Linked DNA regions of Homo sapiens: regions 1, 3, 4 and 5 are each linked to region 2. Evidence: promoter capture Hi-C in 16 types of primary human blood cells and fetal thymus (Javierre and others, 2016). All regions are on one chromosome and are shown on one strand. The core of a region is centred on a gene start or on the middle of the fragment in contact, and the rest is flanking DNA. Distances in the headings are between cores, read along the strand shown. Region 1 has its middle 9.1 kb from the start of STMN4. Region 2 holds the start of CLU (clusterin). Region 3 overlaps TRIM35 (tripartite motif containing 35). Region 4 holds the start of SCARA5 (scavenger receptor class A member 5). Region 5 has its middle 5.9 kb from the start of PTK2B.

Region 1 (4,502 bases), core at 1,304-3,803, 350 kb after region 2:
AGCGTTTTCTTAGCAGCCGCAGAGGACTGTATGCATTTCTTCCCATTCCACCCCTTTTTAAAACCTACTTTATGATTTTTCAAGTCCCTACTGTCCTTAAATCTAAATTCTAGGGGGCTGGGGAAGGTGGGCCAGTCCAGCCCCTTCCTCATCAATCTCTGTGTGCTCCTGAGTGCAGCAGGGAGGGAATGTGCAGGGTGACTCCAGAGCTGATTCCAGCTCCCTGTTTCCAGCACCTTTGGCACACAAAAGCATGCAGCAGATAGAACTGGACAGCTGGGGAAGAGGTGGCCCCCTTTCCTTCCCTCCCAGTCTCTGGCCCTTTTGACAACCCATGTTAAAAGACTCATTTGTTCACACCCTGCTCTGACATCTCTAGGGATGTTCAGCCCCTGGGGATTCTGCAGTAGGGAGAGGCAGCTGTGGTGCTAGAGGTCAGGATACTCACAAGGCAAATCGTTTTCCCATCCCCAGCTTGCCTAACCCAATTAAAATGTTCCACCACTGGCAATGAACTTAGGTTCAGGCATTTTTGTAATGAACACAATATTATTTTTTGCTTGTTACTTGCTGACCCTGATGGAGCACACATGTGGGGTGTCTGCTGGGCTCTCCATTAACCTCCCCGCAGAAGAGGACCCCTACCCCATACAGATTTGCACAATGCAGTCCACCCTCTGGTCAAAATCCTTGGCACCAGACACACACACCTGACCTGAAGTGAGCCAGACGGATTCTCTTGCCTGGACATTCTGAAATCAGGATGGAGAGAAGGCTAGTCTGTCTCTCTGTTACCCCAAGAATCGTGGGCTGGCCACTGCTTGGAAGCAGAGAGGGGGTCTGTCTTGGAGATGGGAGATGCAGATGCAGAATAAGGTGGGGGTGAGAGAAAGAGAGAGAGAGAGACAGACTTCCCAGGTGCTGCTGCTGCTGATTCCTGGTTCCAGCCAGCTGTCTTTTTGTGATGGTTTCTTTGTGATATCTTTCTAAACTTGAATGAATTTCCTGTTTTTGCTTATGGTAATCTGGAGTAGATTCCTGTTAATTTGCAGCCAAATGAACTCTAAATAAGATGCAACCTGGTACTAGGAAATGAAGCCACACATAACCACATAACTGACCCGTTTCAGGGCATGGAGACAATGGGATCCCATCATTCTGGGATTGGGGAAGCTGGCTGCCTGTCAGTGATATACAAACAGAAACAGCTGGTGAAATCAGTGTTGCTGGTTTTTGGAACTTGGACAGTTTTTCTACTGAGACTGAGGCTTTAGGGGATTGTAAGGCCATCTTGAAGGACGTCAGGCCATGCTGTTGACTCTCTGGGATTTCAGTAAAGTGCATGGGGTCAAGTCTGAGGCTGTTGGGCTTAAAGTGGATGGGAAAAACAGGAAAACTAGGTCAGTTGTGCAAACCCTGCTCCTGAAGTCCTTTCTGCTCATAGTATAGGATCTGAGACCACTTAGAGTCAATTCTCGAAGTTAATCACAGGACTTACAGAGCTGCAGCAGTTACACTCTGCAGCAACCTACATCGAGAACTAAATTTGGTGCACCAATTATGAAACAGCGAGGTTCTGGCACTTGGAATAAGGACATTCAGGAAAGGCCAGGGGAGCTGGGAAACCCTGAATCTTCCAAACTTCTTCCGGTCCATTTTTCTGCACCCTCTTGCTGGACAAGATGGGGGGTGCCTCCCACTGTGAAGCACCCTTTGGAACCAGGTTTGGGATGATCTACAAATTAACAAGGTGAAGGTGGACTTTCTCAACTGCCCTGCGCACCCTAAGGCGAAATCCGTTAAGCAGAGAACCAGAGCCCTCGGGCTTCCTTCTAAGAAACTGCAGCCCCACAGGCAGGGCCCAGCTCAGCTGCTCAGCTTCACAAGCTGTCTAGAAACAGCTTTCAACAAATGCAGTCTCCCTAAATTAAATCGACAGGCTGCCAGTTAAGGTTTTATAGGTGCTGTGCTGCCAAAAAAAACCTCAAGCCTGGAGAACAGGGTCTTTAGATCAACACAAACCAACCACACACAGGGCATCTTCATCCCTCAGGCAAGCTGTGGGCCAAGCCAGAAGACTGCCAGCTGCCTTCAGAAGACGTCACATGACCACAGTCAGTTTCTTCTCAGGCTCCTTCCGAGGTGGGCCGGGAGGACCCTGGACAAGGGCAATATCCCTGTGGGCAGAGCCTAAAGTGGTTTACTGGCTCACCAAGGAACTCTCTTGGGTGTCAGCTGGAGTCACCATGCAGGGGGCCACAAGCTTCATCGTGTGTCCCATGGGAGGCAGCCCACACTTTACACTGTAACCGCCTGATGAGTTCTTCCTTCCCAATGCACAGACAAAAGCAATTGATGGAGACCATGGAGTTTAATTGACATGAGGCCTGTCATGCCATGGGGGAGACAGAGTTATTACTCAAATCAATCTTCCTGAGCATTTAGAGGCTAGGGTTTATCAAAGACAGTTTGAAGGAAGGGGTGGAGGTAGCGAGGCAATGGGTGGTTGCTGCTGATTGGTTGGGGGCACAATCATGGGGCATGGGAAGTGTTCCTCCTGCACACTGAGTTGCTTCTGGGTGGGGCCACAGGAGCAGTTGGAGGGCCCAGATGGAGCCACTGGTCATCAAACATGCAAAAAACCTGAAGAGATATCTCAAATGGCCAATCTTAGGTTCTTCAATAGTGATGTTACTTGCAGGAGTGACTGGGGACATTGCATATCGTGTGACCTCCAAAATAATGGCTGGCAGTTGTTTATGTCTGCACCTTAGCCGAATTCAGCCTCCTCTCCTCCTCCTAGCCTGGCAATCTCTCATTAACTTTACAAAGGCTAAAGCTTTGGGGAAGGGCTATTATTAAACTTTATTTATTATTTATTGATTATTATTTAAACTATAAATTAAATCTCTCCTAAAGTTAGCTTGTCCTAAACCCAGAAATAATTAAGGGCAGCTTGAAGGCCAAAGGCAAGATGGGGTTTGGCTAGATCAGATCTCTCCCACTGCCATCATTTTCTCAGTGTGTAATTTTTGGAAAGGTGGTTTCAACACCAGTAGCCTGCCCAGGGGCTTCTGTCTTGAGGGTCCTTCCTTCTTTGTGTTTAAGTGGGAAAGCTTTATGGCTACTGGCCAGCCTTTCTCCCAGTGTTCTCTATCAGGTGGACTATAGATGGTGGGTTTTTGTCATTTGCTTTATAGACCCATCCATCTGGGACTGATCTGGAGGAGAAAGGGGCATTTCCTGGGATCAGGACCTCACCTCTGTGTAGAAAGGAGGAAGCGTCCATATTCCCGGAGGCAGTTACATCTGTACTGTGCGACCCCACTGCCATGGGAAGAGGCATGGACTCCAGGCTCAGGCAGGGTTAGTGGATTTTGTTTTCCTGAGAGCTTTAAACTGAATCTAAGAGAGGGCTAATGGGTTTCTCTGTGTGGCCCAACTACAACGAACACTAGCACCACCAAAAAGCACTGGCATCCTTCATGGCTGTGAGGCAGCCACATGCATGAGCAGCACAGAAGGTGGTCTGCAAAGATGAATGACGCAGCTTTGCAGAGAGAGGAGAGAGACACAGAGAAATAAAGAGGGAGAGAGAGAGAAGGAGAAAGAGAAAGAAATGGAGAGAGAGAGAAAGAGGGAGAGAGAGAAAGAGGGAGAGAGAGAAAGAGGGAGAGAGAGAGAGGGAAAGAGAGAAAGAGGGAGAGAGAAAGAGGGAGAGAGAGAAACGGAGAGAGAGAAAGAAAGAGGGAGAGAGAGAAAGAGAGGGAGAGAGAAAGAGGGAGAGAGAGAAAGAGGGAGAGAGAGAAAGGGAGAGAGAAAGAGGGAGAGAGAGAAAGAGGGGAGAGATAGGCAGAGAGAGAAAGAGAGGGAGAGAGAAAGAGGGAGAGAGAAAGAGAGGAAGAGAGAAAGAGGGAGAGAGAGAAAGAGAGGGAGAGAGAAAAAGGGAGAGAGAAAGGGAGAGAGAAAGAGAGAGAGAGAAAGGGAGAGAGAAAGAGGGAGAGAGAGAAAGAGGGAGAGAAAGAGAAAGAGGGAGAGAGAGAAAGAGAAAGAGGGAGAGAGAAAGAGGGAGAGAGAGAGAGGGAGAGAAAGAGAAAGAGGGAGAGAGAGAAAGAAAGAAAGAGGGAGAGAGAAAGAGGGAGAGAAAGAGAAAGAGCAAGAGAGAAAGAGGGAGAGAGAGAAAGAAAGAGGGAAAGAGAAAGGGAGAGGGAGAAAGAGGGTGAGAAAGAAGGAAAGGGAGGGAGAGAGAAAGAGGGAGAGAGAACAAAAGAGGGAGAGAGAAAGAACTGACTTGTGATTGCTTTCCTGACTCTTCTTTTTTGGGAGGAATCCTCCGTTTTGGGTTAAATAAAGAATTCCCAACTCCTCTTTTCTCCCCTTTTCTAGTAACTGTTTATTTTGAAATAATTACAGATTTGGAAGTTGCAAAGATAGTATAATAGAGAGGTCCCACCTACCCTCTACTCAGTTCCTCCCGTGGTTACACTTTACATAACTGTGGT
Region 2 (4,422 bases), core at 800-3,299:
ACCGGGTGCAGATGCTGGGGATGGGGTAGGAATCAAGCAGTGTGTGAGTCCTGAACCAATCAATGTCTATGATCTGCTTAGAATATGAAACATCTGGTGATGCATTTATGGCGCTTTCAAAATTTACACTTTTCTTTCCTCAAAGTTTGACCTTCTGAACCTTGTTTGCTTAGTAGTGGGAATAATCAAGTAATTATTCCCAAGGGATCACAGTCATGACTGTGAATCTGTGAATCATGCTATTTTCTCCCAAGTCCTTTCTTCCTCTCTTCCCTTCCCCTAATTCAGCTGGCTAAGGCGGATCTCACTGACTGACCTCCAAAGTCTAATTTTTAAAAATATAACTAGATTTATGCCTTCTGTTCCGGATGCTGAGGGAGCTACAGAACAGAAAAGTTACAAGGAGCGAGCTCAAAAACAATTCTTCTAACCTCAGGTATTGATAAGGAGCAGGCACTGATAAGGAGCAGGCACTGTCCACAGAAAATGTAGCTGTTACTGATAATTAGACATTTTTTTTTTAAGAAAAATAAAGTGTAGCCTCTTCTGGGACATTTTTTTCTTCTTCTGGGTTAATGGCCTTCTAATACTTGGCTTGGCTCTAGGTTAGGTTGCAGGGAGCCGTGGAGATGATCCATTCCCGATTCCTCATCGTCCAGATGGAAGAAACTGAGGCCCAAGGGCAAAGTGATTAGTCCGAGGTCACCCAGTGTCTAGGGGCACACCTAGGACTGTAATCAGACTTTCATGGACCTGGTCTGGGTTCTCCCACTTAGTCATGGGCCTTGAAGATTCCCCGAGGCTGCCTCCTGAAAAGGACTGGGGTCCTAGTGGCCCCTGGACGTTGGGCAAGCAAGGGACTGGGCCTCCATGTTGTGCCTCCATAGTCCTGATCCTGAACTGGAAAACTCAGCCCCTGACCACGCAGCTCTCCTTTAAGCCCCTTTGTTTCACATGGTTTTCAAAGTCTGCCACCCACAGTGGGGCTGCCTGTACCCGCCCTGTCCACCCATTGCCCCAGCTGTCAGCCCCTTGACTTCTCTCCTGGGGCTTAAACATCCCTGGCTCCAAAATGGGCAGCTCACTTTCTTCCCCAAGAAGTAGCTGCACCTCCAGGGTTCCTAGATTTGCCCCTCCTTGCCAGGGGGAGGGGTGGCTGCGACAGGAGATTCTCCCTGCTCTCAGCAGAAGGAACTCCAGCAGTTGGAGACCAGCAAACCCCTCTGGACACAGATCTGATTTCCTAACTGGGAAGGCTCAGGGCAAAATAAAAATTCAGGTCCACTGGTTCAAAAACTATGAAGAATTTCAAGACCGTCACAGTAGCCCATTAAACCAAACGTGGATCTGCAAGGGTCCCACAGCCATGAAGCCCACCCTGCTTGGTTGGGTTCCAAAAAGATGGGGACAGTGATTGCTTAAGCTCTGTGGATCAAGGACCCCGGAGAGGCCTTCTGGCTCTCCACATATCTGCTCTGATCACTCCTAAACACAATTCTGTTTCCTCCAGGCCTGGCGGGTCAGTCCAGGGACCCCCATCAGTGTGATGTTTCCAGGAGTAGGCGTTTCAATACTTCCTGTGCTCTCTTCTCCAGCACAAGGCCCCTCTCCATCCCACCCTCATTATGTCTGACTCTTTACTATTTAAATGGGTCAAGAGAAGTGGCGCTTGTGTAATGTGAAGGTTAAGGTCAGTAGGGCCAGGGAACTGTGAGATTGTGTCTTGGACTGGGACAGACAGCCGGGCTAACCGCGTGAGAGGGGCTCCCAGATGGGCACGCGAGTTCAGGCTCTTCCCTACTGGAAGCGCCGAGCGGCCGCACCTCAGGGTCTCTCCTGGAGCCAGCACAGCTATTCGTGGTGATGATGCGCCCCCCGGCGCCCCCAGCCCGGTGCTGCACCGGCCCCCACCTCCCGGCTTCCAGAAAGCTCCCCTTGCTTTCCGCGGCATTCTTTGGGCGTGAGTCATGCAGGTTTGCAGCCAGCCCCAAAGGGGGTGTGTGCGCGAGCAGAGCGCTATAAATACGGCGCCTCCCAGTGCCCACAACGCGGCGTCGCCAGGAGGAGCGCGCGGGCACAGGGTGCCGCTGACCGGTGAGATGTCCCCGTCTTCCCTACCCTTGAGCAGAGCCACACCAGGACGGATGGGCGGGCAGGGGATGGCAGCCAGGCAGAGAGGGATGACACAGCTCGCAGTCACAACCCCTGCGCTTTCGACGGAGCCCAGGAAGCCAGGGAGGGGAGGTGGCCGGAGCCCCATCACCAGGCAGCTGAGCCAGGGGCCCCGGCGCAACCGCCGCCTGAGAGCACGAGCTCCAACCACAATTCTGTGGTGGGGGGGTAAATAGAACAGATATAATGATCATCCTTTCGCAAAGATGGGGAAACTGAGACCTGGAGACCTGCCGCGTTGCGGGAGACCCAGGCTAGCAGGTGACAGAGCTGGCCTGCACCGAGCTCCTTCCTGCAGCATATCCTCTGCGAAGATGCGGATCTCTCAGTTGTGGCTTTCGGCTTGCATGCATGAGTCATCTAGTTTTCTTCTAAATTCTCTAGCTCTCTGGACACTGTTGCCTGTAAGTATGAGGCTGCGGATTTCAGTATATGCTGCAACCACCGAAATCCGACTTTTTCTGCCTCCTAATGCATCTGAGGTGCATCAGAGAAAAGTCACACAAGATCCACCAGGCCTCAGACCTCTGATTCCACAGTCTCATTTTACAGATGATAATCTGAGGCCTGGAGAGGTTTAGGACTGGTGCCAACACTAAACAGCAAATAAGTATCAGAATTGGGATTCGAGCCAAAGCCTCTTGACCTTCCAGAATTTCTGGACCTAGTTAAAAAAAATATGATTTTTATTATTATTTTTTAAACGGAGAGGTTAGGAATTTAAAGGAAAGTACAGATACTATATAAAAAAAGATGCCCATGAAAATGTTAAGTTATAATAATAGTGGAGCATTGGGCACAACTGAAATGGCCAATCTTGTGAGAATGGTAAAATAAACTTAGGTCCGTGAGTAAGTGGAGTATTACATAGCCATAAAAGTATGCCCTTAAAGAATATTTGAAGATGGTGAATGTGAAGAATCTTGTATAAACTGCATGGAAGACAGAAGGAAATATACCACAGTGCTAACCTTTGCCTCTGGGTGATATGAATTACCGGTGATTATTTTTCTTATTTTCCTTTTGGTTTAGTTTTCTCCATTTGAAGAAGCAGATAGGAGCCGGGGCTTTGGGATTGAAACCCTCACCATCTGTGTGCCCTCTTCACTGTCTTCCCATCCTCCCCACGGCTCCCTGTTCACAGTCATTGATTTTCTTTCTTTCTTTTCTCTCTTTTTTTTTTTTTTTCCTGAGACCAAGTCTCACTCTGTTGCCCAGGCTGGAGTAGAGTAGCGCCATCTCGGCTCACTGCAACCTCCGCCATCCGGGTTCAAGCAGTTCTCATGCCTCAGCCTCTGAGTAGCTGGGACTACAGGCGCATGCTGCTACATCCGGCTAATTTTTGTATTTTTAGTAGAGACATGGTTTCACCACCTTGGCCAGGCTGGTCTCGAACTCCTGATCTCAAGTAATCCGCCTGTCTTGGCCTCCCAAAGTGCTGGGGTGACAGGTGTGAATCAATGCGCCCTGCCAGGTCATTGATTTTCTTAAGCCTCCAGCCCTGCCCTGCTTGGAAACGTTTTGGGAAGCTGCTCAGTTCAAAGTTCCCAGGAGGGTGTGCCTGGAGGGGAGTTGCTCCCAAAGTCTGCCTGCTCCCCCCGCCCCCCCTGCCCCCCACCCCCCGCCATCTTCTCCTCCTCCTCTTCCCCTGAGCAGCCCCTTTGTCCACAGAACCGGCCTTTTCTGGTAGAAGGAGCAAGGCCAAGTGGTTTAAGCCTTCTTAGGGAGAATGAGGCTGTGTGGTAGTGCTGGGGACTCGAGGGCCTTGGCCTTGGCATGGCTCTTCCACCCAGGGCAGCTGGCAGCCAGGCTCCCAGGAGGCAGAGGAGATGAGGGGGGAGGTGAGTCCGAGCAAAGGAAAGGAGGTCGGCTGTGCAGTCACGGTTCTAGAACATTCCTTGGATCAGCAGCATCCATATCACCTGCAGACTGGCTGGAAAAGCAGTCTCAGAACCAACATTATAACCAGCCCTGCAGTGATTCATAAGTACTTTAAAAAGTGGTCAATCATTTCAGCAAAGCAGAGCCACACAGTCCGGGGGACCACAGGTGGCCTCTGTGTGCTTGTCTCGGTTTTCCTGCCCCTCTCCAGACATGTTGATTAGACACTGCCAATGCCCAGCCTCAGACCTCAGTCTAATTTGGAAGTAGTCAGAATTTACTATGATTACATAAGACCCTCGTGTTTACAGAACACATTCCCCTCTCTGAGGTCTGGATTAGATCCATTTTACAGATGAAGAAACTGAG
Region 3 (4,390 bases), core at 1,416-3,915, 310 kb after region 2:
ATAAGAAAACGAAACCTAATTCTGTGTTGCTTAATATAATTATCTCAGTGAGAAAACATTTGATAAAATTTACCATCTTTTTGTGTTTAAAAAAACAGGAAACTAGAAATGGAAGGAATTTCATTAGTTTGATTAAGTATATCTAGCAAAAAAACTTACAGCAAATATCACATTTAATGGCAAAACATTGAAAGCTTTCTTATTGAGATCAAGAAAAAGACAGGAATGCGCATTATGACCAACTCTATTCAGTTTTGTGTGGGATAGCCTTGTCAATGAAGTAAGCCAATAATTATAAATAAAAGATGTAAGGTTTGGAAAGAAGGGAAGCAAAACTGGCATGTGTAGATAATATGGTTGCATATTTTTGCACTGAGATTTCTATGTGTAGAAAATAAAGATTCTACAGTTAAATCATAAGTATTAATAAGTTTAGGTGAATGCTGAATCCAAAATCAAGATGCAAAACCAGTTGTATTTCTATGTATCACTAGCAAATAGAAAATAAAATATAGGCAGGGAGTTTTACACCTGTAATCCCAGCACTTTGGGAGGCTGAGGCAGGAGGATCGTTTGAGCCAAGGAGTTTCAGACCAGCTTGCACAACATAGTCCAGCCTGTCTCTACAAAAAGTTAAAACAAATTAGCCAGGTGTGGTGGTGCATGCTTGTAGTCCCAGCTACTTGGGAGGCTGAGGTGGTGGGAGGATCACTTGAGCACAGGAGGCTGCAGTGAGCTATGATTGTGCTACTACTGCACTGCAGCCTGGGTGACAGAGGGGGACCCTGTTTTGGGTTTTTTTAATTTAAAAATATGTTTACAATAATATAAAAAATAAGATAACTAGGAAGAAATTAATAAAAGATACGCAAAACTCTGATAGGGAAAAATATACTTCGTTGAGAGCTATCAAAGAACATTAAGTAACTGGTGTGATATATTATGTTCGTGGATTAGTAAAGTCAGTATTTAAGCCTTTCAGTTTTCCCCAAATTGATCTATAGAGACAATATTGTACTAATCTAAATCTCAACATGATTATTTTTATGCAACTTCACAGATTCTAAAATTTATATGACCCTCAAAGGGCCAAAAATTGCCAAGACATTCTTGAAGAGAAACCTATCAGAAATCCTCTCTTTTTTACAGCTATAGAAATTATGGCTGTGTGATGTTGGCACAAGGATAAACAGATGGGCCAGAGAAACAGATGGAGAGAACCAAAAAACAGATCTGTGTCTGATTTAAGACAGAGGTGGCTCTGCAGACCAGTGGGCAGTAATGGTCTTTTTAAATAATGGTGCTGAGACAATGAGCTACCTGGTCACACCATGTGCAAAAATAAACTCCAGGTATCCACATCAGACCTAAATGTGAAAGGAAAGCTATAAAGCTTTGAGAAAATACTACAGAGCTATACAATAATAATGCAAAGCTATAAAGCTTTGAGGAAATAATACGATTGTTTTTGTGATCTCAGTGTAGGGAGGTGTTTCTTAAAACTAGTATACTAATCCTAAAGGAAAAGACTAATAAATTTGGCCATATTTCAATTAAGAAAGATAAATGATGAAGTAGAAAATATTCATTACACCTCTAACTAATCAAGGACATACATTGTGTATATATAATAAATTCCCACAAACCAGTTAGGAAAATGGCAGGCAACGCAATGGAAAAATGGACAATACTTTACTGAGTACTTAAAAATAAACATTGAAGTGGTCAATAAACATTTTCTATTAACATTGCTCTTGCTGTAAAAATTGGTACCACTGCTTTGGAAAACAATTTGGCATTACGCAGTAAAGTGAAGACACATATGGTGGCCCAGCAGTTTTATCCCCAGGAATATATTATGAAGAAACGAGTTCCCATGTGTCCCCAGGAGACATGTACAAGAAGGTTACCTCCTCTGGGTCTAACTTGATCCTCTGTATAATGGGACTCACAGTGCTTAACCTTATAGGGAGAATTCGAATTAAATAATTGAATTAAATAGAATGTTTGTAAAGTGCATAATTTAGTGCCTTGTGTCTAGTACATGCTTAATAGTAACTGCTTGCTAGCAATAGTAATATAATTGTTGGTTAGTCTCATCAGCTGACATCTCAGAGAAGGGCCATTTTAGGATTGGTCTTTTCTGAAGGAAACCAGAACTCTCCAAGTGATTGAAAAGTTTGAGAAGATCAAGGGACTATCCCCTTCCCATCCTTATTGTCCCATAAATTCCTAAGGGCCAGGGTTGAAGGGCAGGGGCTGAACTGTGTTGTTTTGGGGCCTGCACACCTTTGGGTAATGCGTATGGACAGCTGCTTCACTCCTGTCACTTAACTAATTTGGCAAATCACTAAATTTTCCTTTTGAACTGTATTACATGATTTTGTATCAAAAATCTCATTCTATAAAATAAAACATTGGAATGACATTTCAGTGGTTTTGTGGGGGCACTCATGCAAATTAGAGATGATATACTACAGAAAACAAAGTTTAAAAATCTTAAATATTGTCACTTAAGATTAAAAGATCAAAATGAGTTGAAAATAAAACAGAACTGCAGAAAATGAAATCAGTAACCATTTTGTTTTCTGTAGTGAAAGACTTAAAGGAATGGGCTACTGAGTGGGACAAATGGGCTAGTTCTCTATTTCCTAGCAAATTGCCCCAAAACTTAGTGCCTTAAAACAAACATTAATTATCTTTGAGTTTCTTTGGGTCAGGAATTGGGCCTGCCTTAGCTCTGGGTGCCTCTGCCTCAAGGTGTCTCATGAGGGGCTGCAGTCAGGGTTCTGTGGGCTAGTTCTAACCAATGGGCTAGTTCTCTATTTCCTAGCAAATTGCCCAAAACTTAGTGCCTTAAAACAAACATTTATTATCTTTGAGTTTCTGTGGGTCAGGAATTGGGCCTGCCTTAGCTCTGGGTGCCTCTGCCTCAAGGTCTGTCATGAGGGGCTGTAGGTATGGAGCTGTGGTCTCATCTGAAGGCTCAGCTAGGGCAGGATCCTTATTTACACTCACATTTGTAGTTGTTGGCAGGATTCAGGTCTTCACGGGCTGTTAGCCTGAGAGCCTGAGTCCCTCACTGGCTGTAGGTCAGAAGCCACTCTCAGTTTCTTGCCCCAGCAGTCACTCCCAGGGCAAATTACCACATGGGCAGCTGGCTACCATCCCAGTGAGCAAGCTAGAGAGAGGAAGGCAGGGTGTACACAGCCTTTGTCGCCTAACCTCAGAGGTGACTTAGTATCACTTGCCACATTCTTTTGGTTAGAAACAAGTCACCCACAGAGGAGGGGATTTCACAAGAGCATGAGTATCAGGAGGTGAGGGTCACTGGGGCCACTTTAGAGGCTGCCTGCCTGAATCTGTCCTTTGCCCCATAAGGAGTCATGTCCCTCCCACATGCAAAATGCACTGGCCCTCTCCCAAGCTCTCCAAACATCTCATCCCTTTACAGCATCAGCCCAAAGTCCAGATTTGTCATCTAAATCAGGTCCAGATGGGAATGAGGCTTTGGGCGACACATCTGTATAATTTATTGCTGCATATCCAGTCACCCCGACATTTAGCAGCTTAAAACACTCTCATCTCACAGGAGGGAGGGATCACTGGGTGCTGTCTCAGCAGCTGCCTCCATAGCTGTCCAGGTTCACGTCCTTCCACATACTAGCTGTGTGCCCTTGGGCTGGTCATTTCCCTTCTGTGCCTCACTTTCTCATCTATAAATGGGGCCAATAATATTACTTATCTACTAGGGAGAAGTAATGATTAAATGACATAATTTCTCAAGTAATTGGTGTTGTCCCTGGCACAGAGTAAGTACTGAATAAATGATAACCATTTATAATTATTTGAATTATTTTTCTTAAGAAAAAACTTGAGAAGCTTTCTGAGAATGTAGATCGAAAAGGATAATGAGGGAGAAAAAATGATAGGCCTAAGATACAAGAGGCAGGAATCCAACCTAAAACACTCTAGTGGTTCTTCAAGTTGTCCAAGGACATCAGAAACAATCATTAAAGTTTAAGAAACAAAAACTACTAAACCAAAAGTATTTGTGCCTGCTGATTAAAGTATTCCGTGCGATACAAGCAGTGTTAGAATGTCAGGATGCAGGAGGGGTATGGAGGGGCATGTTGGGCATGTTGAGGTGAGGCCTCATGGGAGGTAACTGAACCCCGTGGGAAATGACTGGCTCCACCCCCATTGTCAGTCACCTCACATTAGAGATTGCAGACCCATTCAGTTTAGGAAACTGCAGAGGGAACCTATGACCACACTGTCTGCAGTTGTCCACACAGCTCAGGGATTCAGACCCAGCATGAACCAGCTTTTGGCCCACATGGGACACTCTTCTGGCCTGTGCTGTGACCAACATGAGAGAGAGCAGCTT
Region 4 (4,929 bases), core at 1,999-4,498, 380 kb before region 2:
CAAAGTGCTGGGATTGTAGGCGTGAGCCACCATGCCTGGCCTGTGGGTAGGAATCATTAGGCTCAGCAGCATGAACAAAGTGACATTTGAGAAAAGATGGGAATGAGGCAAAGAAGTTAGTTGTGCAAACATCTGGTGGAACCACTCCAGGCAGATGGAACAGCCAACCCCAAGCCATAGGGCAGGACCTGCTGGTGTAACGGGCCCAGAGTTCAAGTCAACAATCAGACTTAATGACATAATTAAAGGTGCTCAACTTCATGAGTCATCAGGAAAATGCAAATTAAAACCACAATATGGCACCTCTACAATGCACCAGAGCAGGGAAAATGGAATAAACATCACTGACACTGACAAGGACAAGGAATAAGTGTAGTTTCATCCCCTGCTGGATATAAACTAGTACAACCACCATAGGAAACTCTTTGGCAGTGTCTACCAAAGCTGAACACAGGGCCATCCTATGCCCTGGCGATTCCATGCCCAGGTATATGCCCAAGAGAATGGCATTCATATGTTCCCCAGAAGACACACACAAGAATGTTCACAGCAGCACCATTTATCAGAGTCAAAAATGGAGTCTGGACATGGTGGCTCACACCTGTAATCCCAGCACTTTGGCTGGTGGAGGCGGGAGGATTGCTCGAGGTCAGAAGTTTGAGACCAGCCTGGGCAAGATAGCGAGACCTCATCTCTACAAAGGATTTTAAAAAATTAGCTGGGTGTGGTGGCATGTGCTTGTAGCCCCAGCTACTCAGGAGGTTGAGGTGGGAGGATCACTTGAGCCTGGGAGGTCGAGGCTGCAGTGAGCTATGATTGTGCCACTGTACTCCGACCTGGGTGATAAAGTGACATCCTACCTCTAGAAAAAACAAACTGAAAAAGCTTGGTCCCTCCATTTCAAATACTGAGATTTCATAGATGAAACTACTTCAGAAGTCTATTGAACCCTCCTCTATCAAGGCAATCACATTTTCATTCAGCTTCTGGGGGGGAAATGCCTACTACAAATGCCATCCGTGATTGAATGGAAGCAAATCATTTTGGGGACAATTCTGATTTTAGTGGCAAGGAGGTATCTGAGCTAAGAGCTGCCGGGAGGACTCTCACCCATGAGAAAACCAGCCCTCCAGGTCATTCCTATACTTCACTGTCAAATCTCCCTTTGCCTGTTCCGGCAGCTTTATTCATAATAGACAAAGATTGGAAACATCCCAAACCCCCTTCAGCAGGAGACCGATATACACATTGTGTGTGGTATGTGCCTATCACGCAATAGGACTCAGTGCTTCGAACAGGGCGGGAGGTGGGAGGACAAGCGAGGATGAGCGTGGAGTCCTCACATGGCAGAAAGGCAGAGGATCAAGCCAGCCCACTCCTGCAAGCCCTTTCTACGGCATCCCAAATACATTCATGACTCAAATACCCCCACAAAGGCCCCACCTCCCAACACTGTTGCAATAAAGATTACATTTCCAATGCTTGAATTTAGGGGGACACTAACTACCACATTTCTTGCTAACATACACATCTCTTTAGGGAAGGTCTTTGGACATCACTTTTTTTTTTAAGACAGGATCTTGTTCTGTTACCCAGTCTGGGGTGCAGTGGTGCGATCACAGCTCACTGCAGCCTCAAACTCCTGGGCTCAGTTGATCCTCCCATCTCAGCCTCCCAAGCACCTGGGACTACAGGTGTGCATCACCACGCCCAGCTATTGTTTGTATTTTTTTTTTTTTGTAGAGACAGGGTTTTGTCATGTTGCCCAGGCTGGTTGGACATCATATTTTGAGCACATTTCTGGCTGTTTTTAAGATTACATTCCTAGGAATGTTGGTGAATTGATGGGGGACAAAAACATTTGTTTCCCCTTGAGAGGCAATGGTACAGGGGAGGGGTTAAGAGCATAGACCCTAGGATCACATTGCCTAGGGTTGAATACTAGCTCTGCCACTTACTGGCTACAAGACCCTGGACAAGTCACTTCCTCTCTGTCTCTGTAAATGAGCATAATAGCAGCACCTGCCTCAGGGGGTTGTTGAATAGGTTCAATGAGCTAATATATAAGAAACACATGGTATATGCTATAAAGTGTTGTCTTCTTTTCCTTCTCCTCCTCCGCTCCCTGGGATTATTACCATAATGATACAATTATCATTTGTTCTTTCTGTAAAATGGAGTTTGATGTTGGAGCTGCTTCCTAGGCAGTCAGGCAGGGCAGTCACTGAGAATGAGGACGGCGTTTCTGACTCAGCTGTGGGCGGGCAGCTGCAGTGACACAGCTGAGTCTTGGCAAACACTTTTCATGTACGAAGCCTGACCCTGGAGTCTTGAGGCTGAACTTTTCACCAACAAACAGGAATGCATTCATGAATGTTACCTCTGGGTGCTGTCCTCTGGAAGCCATCTGCATAGCCTAACTCTGCCACCCTGGCTTGGACAATTATGGTGATTTCTCTGATGCCCCTGATACTACCACCTCAATCTGAATTTAGCAGCTCCCTTCACATATGGTTAGATTGCCTTTAAAGAGATTTTTTTTTTTTTTAGAGATGGGGTCTCACTATGTTGCCCAGGCTGGTCTTGAACTTGTGGGTGGGCTCAAGCAATCCTCCCACCTCAGCCTCCCAAAGTGCTGGGACCACAGGTGTGAGTCACTGCACCCGGCCTAGATGTCCTTTTTCAAACGTAAGCAATCATGCTCAGGTTTAGGATTATTCGTGCCTGGGTCCCCCTCCCATACTGAATTGCTATGGACAGCCAGCTAGTCTTCATCCTGCACCCCCCAGCCCCTGTGCAGCGTTAATGAGCCAGAAACGCTGATTCTGCTGCTGAGTTCCGTGGAACCCCCTGGGGCATTTTCCTGACTACCCCCAGTGTGGCCAATCCGTGTCCACTGAGGATGAATGTGACTCCAGGAAAATACATGAAGTAACTCTGTGCCAAGCTTGGTGAATGAATTGAGCCATGCCAATTCTGTGCTATAAATAAATTTACAAGACTGGTTTTCTTGCGTGGCTCATAAGCCAGGTCTAGCTGCCACTCCCCCAGAAGTCTTCCAAAAAGTATTTTGAGCAGGACCTTTAGACTGGGGTGTTGGAGTCCCAAGGCCAAGGCCGACCGCGCTGCTCTGGGCCCAGCGGGCGTTCCCACACGGGGCTGTAATGCCACGATTGGCCGCAGGAGGGGGGCCGTATTCCAGACCCCATTGCAGAAGCCTCCGCAACTGCTCCAAGAACTTTATTTTATACGGACTGGCGGCGAGAGCAGCTGCAGTTCGCATCTCAGGCAGTACCTAGAGGAGCTGCCGGTGCCTCCTCAGAACATCTCCTGATCGCTACCCAGGACCAGGCACCAAGGACAGGGAGTCCCAGGCGCACACCCCCCATTCTGGGTCCCCCAGGCCCAGACCCCCACTCTGCCACAGGTTGCATCTTGACCTGGTCCTCCTGCAGAAGTGGCCCCTGTGGTCCTGCTCTGAGACTCGTCCCTGGGCGCCCCTGCAGCCCCTTTCTATGACTCCATCTGGATTTGGCTGGCTGTGGGGACGCGGTCCGAGGGGCGGCCTGGCTCTCAGCGTGGTGGCAGCCAGCTCTCTGGCCACCATGGCAAATGCTGAGATCTGAGGGGACAAGGCTCTACAGCCTCAGCCAGGGGCACTCAGGTGAGTCTTGGTACTAATTTTGTCCTATCTCCTGGGCATGCTGTCTCAAAGACAGCTGGAGGAGACTGGAGTGAACTGGATGGAGAGGAGTACAGAGTTTGGGAAACTTCAGACCTAGAGCCTGGAGGTGCCTTCTCCAGGTGGGAAGGTCCCCGCCTGCTGGGCCCGCAGATATCTGCCGGGCCCTCATCCAACTGCCTGGGCTGGAGAGAATGTGAGCCTGCATTTGGGGTGCCAGAGGGAAGCTATTGCCTTGGTGGCTACTCCACCTGACTCATGTCACAGCTCAAGAGCCTACTCAGGGTGCAGATGGCTCAGGTGACAGCTCCTCTCCATGGCTTCGTGTGTGTGCATGTGTGTGTGTGCATGTGTGTGTGTGCATGTGTGTGTGTGTGCATGTGTGTGTGTGTGCATGTCTGTGCGTGTGCATGTGCCAGTGGTGGGATATATGTGGGGAGAGGTTATTTCTAAAATATCTGTCTCTGTCCAGCTTTGGGTTATGATTTAGCTTAACTAAGTACAGTTAGAGGAGGAAAACATTTAAAACCTCCTTAGTGATTCTCTCTTTGGAGAAGGGCCACACTCATGTGATTTTTTTCCTTGGTTTTGATGAGTTTAAAGTGAGGTAATCCAAAGAAAAGCCATAAACCCTGCAGAGTTAGATGCGGGTACCCAGAGAAACTGACTTGGTAGCAGCAAATGAGGCTCGTGCTACCCACTCAGAGGAGGAATTAATGGAGTCCTTCTGATCTCCAGAGAAGGATTGAAGAGCCAGGGTCCTGATATCAGCCCTAGAGTGCATTCGCGATTGCCTTTTACAAAGGGAACTTCAAACAGCTTTGTTTCTGAGACTGGCTAGGTAGGAGGGAGGCCTTGGGAACCTGGACACCCCCTTACCTGGCTGCCAGGCAGAGTCAGAAGATGCTGGGGGATGCTTTTTCTCATCAGACTGCCACCAGCTCCCCTGAGTGACCTTGTTCATAAAGTCATGCCACATGCATTATCTCACGGGAGGCTCACAGTGATCCTGGGTGACCAGCAGCTACCCACCTTCCCATCTTAGAGGTCATGTACCTGAGGCTGAATGAGGTCAGGTAATTGAGCCAAGTTCCCCCAAGAAACCAATACGCAGAGGAGCTAGGATGGGAGCCCTTGGCTTCTGTGTTCCCTGCATTCCTGCAGAGAGCCAGGCCTGCAGGGCGCAGATGGCCCCAGGGCACAGGGCTGCAGGGCACAGATGGCTGAGGGCTTTTCCAGCTCTAAAA
Region 5 (4,775 bases), core at 778-3,277, 290 kb after region 2:
CCTGGGTGACAGAGTGATAGTCCATTTAAAAAAAAAAAGGGACAAAGAAAAACTTATGGGTACAAGTACTGAAAAAAGTACTTCATCACCAAGGGATGTCTACCTCTAATTTAACCAGACATCACTATGTTTACGAAGTGGGCCACAGTTGAGGCCAAAATAAGTTGAGTATGGCTTGAATAGAACTCAAAATCATGCCCTCAACCTAAAAAAGAACTTTCTCTTTTCTTTCCTTAATATTGGAATCCCTGACTTTCAGATGGTCACAGCCTGCCCAAAATGAAGGCTACATTTCCCAGTCTCCCTTGCATGTGTGACCAGGTGCGACCATGTGATTAAGTTCTCCGCAATGGTTGAAGAGTAGAAGTTATGCACGCAACTCCAGAATCATGCCCCTCAAGGGAATGAGCACATCCTCCAATATTTTCCACTTTATCTTTTCCACCTCCACCTGACAATGAAACCTGGAGCAGCCATCCAGTCTATGATGTTAAGAATCCGGGTACCTAATGCCGTCCAGCCACCATGCTTACCCTGGACATAGTCTGAACCTAGTTTAACTTTTACATGAGAAAGAAATTTAAGTTGCTTGGGTTACTTTATTTTGGCCTTTCTGTTACCATAGCCTGAACTGCATCGGTGATACTATGACATAATAAGAAATATATATTTGGTCTCTGACCGTGCACACAACTTCTAAAACCCTTGGAATTTCTGGAGTGTTAAGAATGTTTTTTTGAGGCCAGGCATGGTGGCTCATGCCTATAATCCAAACACTTTGAGAGGCTGAGGTGGGAGGATTGCTTGAGGCCAAGAGTTCGAGGCCAGCCTGGCCAACGTGGCAAGACTTCATCTGTACAAAAAAATACAAAAATTAGCTGGGCATGGTGGTATGCACCTGTAGTTTTAGCTGCTTGGGAGGCTGATGCAAGAGGATTGCTTGAGCCCAGGAGACTGAGGATGCAATGAGCTATGATTGCACCAGTGGATGAATTTAGCTTGGGCAACAGAGCAACACCCTGTCTCAAAAAAAAAAAAAAAAAAAAAAAAAAAAAGCCTTTTGTATGCCAATGAGATGCCTGGTGGCTTAGGTATCTTAGATCCCTTAGATAGCTTCAGGATGAGGGCTGGTCATCAGAAAAACTGAGGTATGATGAGAAGGCTGAACTTTCAGCGCTATCCCTAAAACTTGGGGAAGGAAAGGGGCTGAAGGTTGAGTTGATCACCCATGGCCAATACTGTAATCAGTCATGCCTACATAAAGAAGCCTTCCTAAAAACCCAAAAGAACATGGTTCAGAGCTGAAGTTGCAGAGGTTCTCAAAGGGTGGCACTTTAAGGGAAGGCATGAAGCTCCATGCCCCTTCCCACAGACCTCACCCTGTGCATCTCTTCCCTTTGGTTGCTCACCTGTATCTTTCACAATATCTTTTTTAATAAAGGACAAAAGAAAGAAAAGTGTTTCTCTGAGCTTTGTGAGCCACTCTAGCAGATTAATCAAACCTAAGGAGGGGTCATGGGAACCCTGATGTATAGCCAGTCAGTCGGAAGCACAGGCCACAACCCGGGACTTGCTACTGGCATCTGAAGCTGGAGCGGGGTGGCAGGGTGGGGAGTTGGGGCAGTCCTGTGGGACTGAGCCCTTAGCCTGTGGGATCTGATGCTATCTCCAGGTAGATAGTGTCTGAATTGAGCTGAATTATGGGACGCTCAGTGTTGTGGGACTTTTCCTTAGTTTAGCTAAAGACGGGGTCCTTGTCTCATGGCCATGAAAGATTAGGCTCACAGACAATTTGAAGGGTGAGTAAGGCAGGGTTTTATTGGGTGAAGAGGGAAAAAAATGGCAACAGGGACCCTTCACAAAGCCAGAGTCCCTACGTGCTTCCTACCTCACAGTTTGAATCGCAGGTACCACCCAGGAAAAGGAGGGGCCAGACTCCTCCCCACTACAAACAGCAGGAACTCCTGTGGCTCCACCCCAATGCGCACTCCTCCCAGTATACAGGCTGGCTAGAGTTTCTCTGGGGACCCTTCCCACCCGGCTGTCTCACCAGCTGGTGTTCACTGGCAATCAGTTGTTGGTGGGGAGAAACTCCTGCACATCCAGCATCAGACGTGACTGTTGGGTGGTACAGAAGAGTACAGAGAAATATGCAGCGTTTTTCTTTTCTTCAGAGCATCCTAGCTAATACACCACCATTTATCCTATTTTCTTTTAGATATAAGTTAAGGCAGAACCTCAATTTTCTCATGTATAAAATGGGATTAATTTACCTTATGGGATGTTAGAAAAACTAGAAGTACATGTGCATTTCCTTGCTATTGCTATAGCTCATAACTGACCATTAATGGATATTATGTCCTGTTGTAATTTTTTTTTTTTTTTTTTTTTTGAGACAGAGTCTTGCTCTGTCACCCAAGCTAGAGGGCAGTGGTGCAATCTTGGCTTACTGCAAGCTCTACCTCCCAGGTTCATGCCATTCTCCTGTCTCAGCCTCCCGAGTAGCTGGGACTACAGGCGCCCGCCACCGGGCCTGGCTAATTTTTTTTGTATTTTTAGTAGAGACGGGGTTTCACCATGTTAGCCCGGACAGTCTCGATCTCCTGACCTCGTGATCCTCCCGCCTTGGCCTCCCAAAGTGCTGGGATTACAGGCATGAGCCACCATGCCCCACCCTGTTGTAACTTTTTAAAACGGGTTCCTGAAAAAAAAAAAAAGGTTGCTTTAAAATATTCCACCTCCCCCATCCAAAAAAAAATCTGTAGAGGGGAGAGATAAAACGAAAATAGCAAAGTTGATAATAATGCAAGCTGAATGATGGGTATGTGGGGGTTAATTATACTGTTCTCTCTAAAATATTGAGTGCATTTGAAACTGCACATAATGAAAAAGTTAAAAAAAATGAACAAAATAAGATCTTTCCACAGAGGATAAAAAAGGGCTCCTGGAAATAATCCAATGTGAATCTCTTTGGGAAAAATAAAGACATAGTTAAACCATTGAAAAATTGATTTGGGTCAATTTTTGGAAGGATGGAAAACACTGAAGAGCATTTTTAATTGTTCCATTAAAGAACAACACGAAAGGCCAGGCGCAGTGGCTCACGCCTGTAATCCCAGCACTTTGGGAGGCTGAGGTGGGCAGATCACTTCAGGTCAGGAGTTTGAGACCAGCCTGGCCGACATGGTGAAACCCCATGTCTACTAAAAATACAAAAATTAGCTGGGTGTGATGGTGCATACCTGTAATTCCAGCTACTCCGGAGGCTGAGGCAGAAGAATTGCTTGAACCCTGGAGGCGGAGGTTGCAGTGAGCCGAGGTCATGCCACTATACTCCAGCCTGGGCAATAGAGCAATACTCTGCCTCAAAAACAAACAAACAAAACCATGCAGAGAAAGCCTCAATGCCACAGAGGACACATGGTTGCCACAGAGGACACATGGTTTCCGCAGCTATTGGGCACGCTTCAGGATTTCCATAACTCCCCAGGTTGCTGCAGGGCTGGCCTGCAGGCTGCTCCTAGAAAGAGTGGCTGCCTGGAAAAGGAGACTTCCCTGATGCCCTGCCGACTCTGAATCAGCTCTATGACTTTGGTCTTCTTGGCTCTGAACCCCTAACCCCCACCTGTGAGTGGGCTCATCTGGTCCCCAACATCCCATGGATAAGCTCTGAAGCATTGAGTGACTGCCCAAACCTTGCTTGCCAGTGTCGAATTCCATAATTTTAACAAACGTGGTGATCTGGTCCCAGCCCACCGTGTGCAGGAAACATCAACTAGGAAGTGAAAGCAGATTGCTGCAGGCAAATGCATTGTTAGGAACAAGAAGAACTTCTAGACAGGAAAAAAATGCCTAGCATGTGCAAGAGCCCTCAAAACCAAGCATCTGTGGCCATTTACAGGACAGAGACAAATAACCCTGCATACTTCATTAACTCCTATTACTTTATTAGCCAGCACAGTAGAGTATTATTGTCTATTTTGGTGCATCATGAGGTATGATTTATATTACGTTCTGCATGCTTTAGAGAAAAAAAACCACAAAATATATTTCTGAAATATTCCCATTCAAAATGTTTCCAATAAAATAATTGAGTGCTTCAATATAAATTTCAGGAACATGGAAAATCAGCTTTGTGTTGTGTCCAGTTGCCAAGTTGGCTGTCTATTCCTGTACCACTCCAGTGTCTTTATAATGAATTGCAGCAATGTGTAACTTCATGTGGATGATCTAAACAAGAGGTCGAAAGCCGAAATGCCTACAGGGGCCGAGCAGGGAATGTGAGGGAAGCTGGCTGGATAGGAACTGTGGCAAATGGGAGAACAAATGTCCCTCCTACAGGGAGCAGCTGCTATTCAGCTCAAAAGTCTATTGCCATGCAGAAAAGTAAGCTTAATGAAGCCAGATCCTCCTTTTTTCAAAACGCAAAGGCAGACAGTGAACTATCTGCAAAGGAAGTTAAGAAAAAACAATTCCATTTACAATGACAGCAAAAATAAGATACTTGGAAATACGCTTAACCAAGGAGGCAAAAGTCCTGCATGATGAGAACTACAAAACATTGGTGAAATAATAGAAGGCATAAGGAAATGGAAAAGACATCCTGTGTTCATGGATTGGAAGACATAATATTGCCTAGGTCACTGCCTATCAAATGGAAAATTTTCTCCCTTTTATAATAAATAGCAGAGCCCCTAATGTATCTCAGGTAATCACCTTCATCACATGATTCAGGTAAATTCTGATTAGCTCAAATCAATCATGATGGTCTTATT

What was found. Contacts are between HindIII fragments. The CHiCAGO score rates a contact against its expected background, and 5 or more counts as called.
Region 1: a fragment that was not itself captured here is called in contact with the fragment with the promoter of CLU in region 2 in 1 of 17 cell types (neutrophils); the score reaches 6.2 in neutrophils.
Region 3: a fragment that was not itself captured here is called in contact with the fragment with the promoter of CLU in region 2 in 9 of 17 cell types (monocytes, fetal thymus, total CD8 T cells and 6 more); the score reaches 7.1 in monocytes.
Region 4: the fragment with the promoter of SCARA5 here is called in contact with the fragment with the promoter of CLU in region 2 in 1 of 17 cell types (endothelial precursors); the score reaches 6.7 in endothelial precursors.
Region 5: a contact is called between a fragment that was not itself captured here and the fragment with the promoter of CLU in region 2, in 4 of 17 cell types (erythroblasts, megakaryocytes, naive B cells and 1 more). The highest score is 7.1, in erythroblasts.

What each region holds. Positions count from the first base shown.
Region 1 is chr8:27,265,215-27,269,716 of GRCh38, reverse strand. No RefSeq gene overlaps it. Among named protein-coding and RNA genes, the nearest start is that of STMN4, 9.1 kb to the right of the region's middle. The HindIII fragment of the contact is 576 bases long and covers 2,266-2,841 here.
Region 2 is chr8:27,612,327-27,616,748 of GRCh38, reverse strand. CLU (clusterin) reads left to right here and starts at 2,049. Exons shown (of 9, transcript NM_001831.4): 1 at 2,049-2,094. RefSeq lists enhancers at 1-170, 461-961, 1,918-2,417 and silencers at 1,806-1,895, 3,451-3,636. The HindIII fragment of the contact is 8,616 bases long and covers 1-4,422 here.
Region 3 is chr8:27,298,827-27,303,216 of GRCh38, reverse strand. The region is part of intron 1 of TRIM35 (tripartite motif containing 35); the gene reads left to right. Among named protein-coding and RNA genes, the nearest start is that of TRIM35, 10 kb to the left of the region's middle. The HindIII fragment of the contact is 2,439 bases long and covers 1,446-3,884 here.
Region 4 is chr8:27,990,992-27,995,920 of GRCh38, reverse strand. SCARA5 (scavenger receptor class A member 5) reads left to right here and starts at 3,248. Exons shown (of 9, transcript NM_173833.6): 1 at 3,248-3,664. The HindIII fragment of the contact is 6,163 bases long and covers 2,950-4,929 here.
Region 5 is chr8:27,317,261-27,322,035 of GRCh38, reverse strand. It overlaps a transcript of PTK2B not described here. Among named protein-coding and RNA genes, the nearest start is that of PTK2B, 5.9 kb to the left of the region's middle. The HindIII fragment of the contact is 4,732 bases long and covers 1-4,393 here.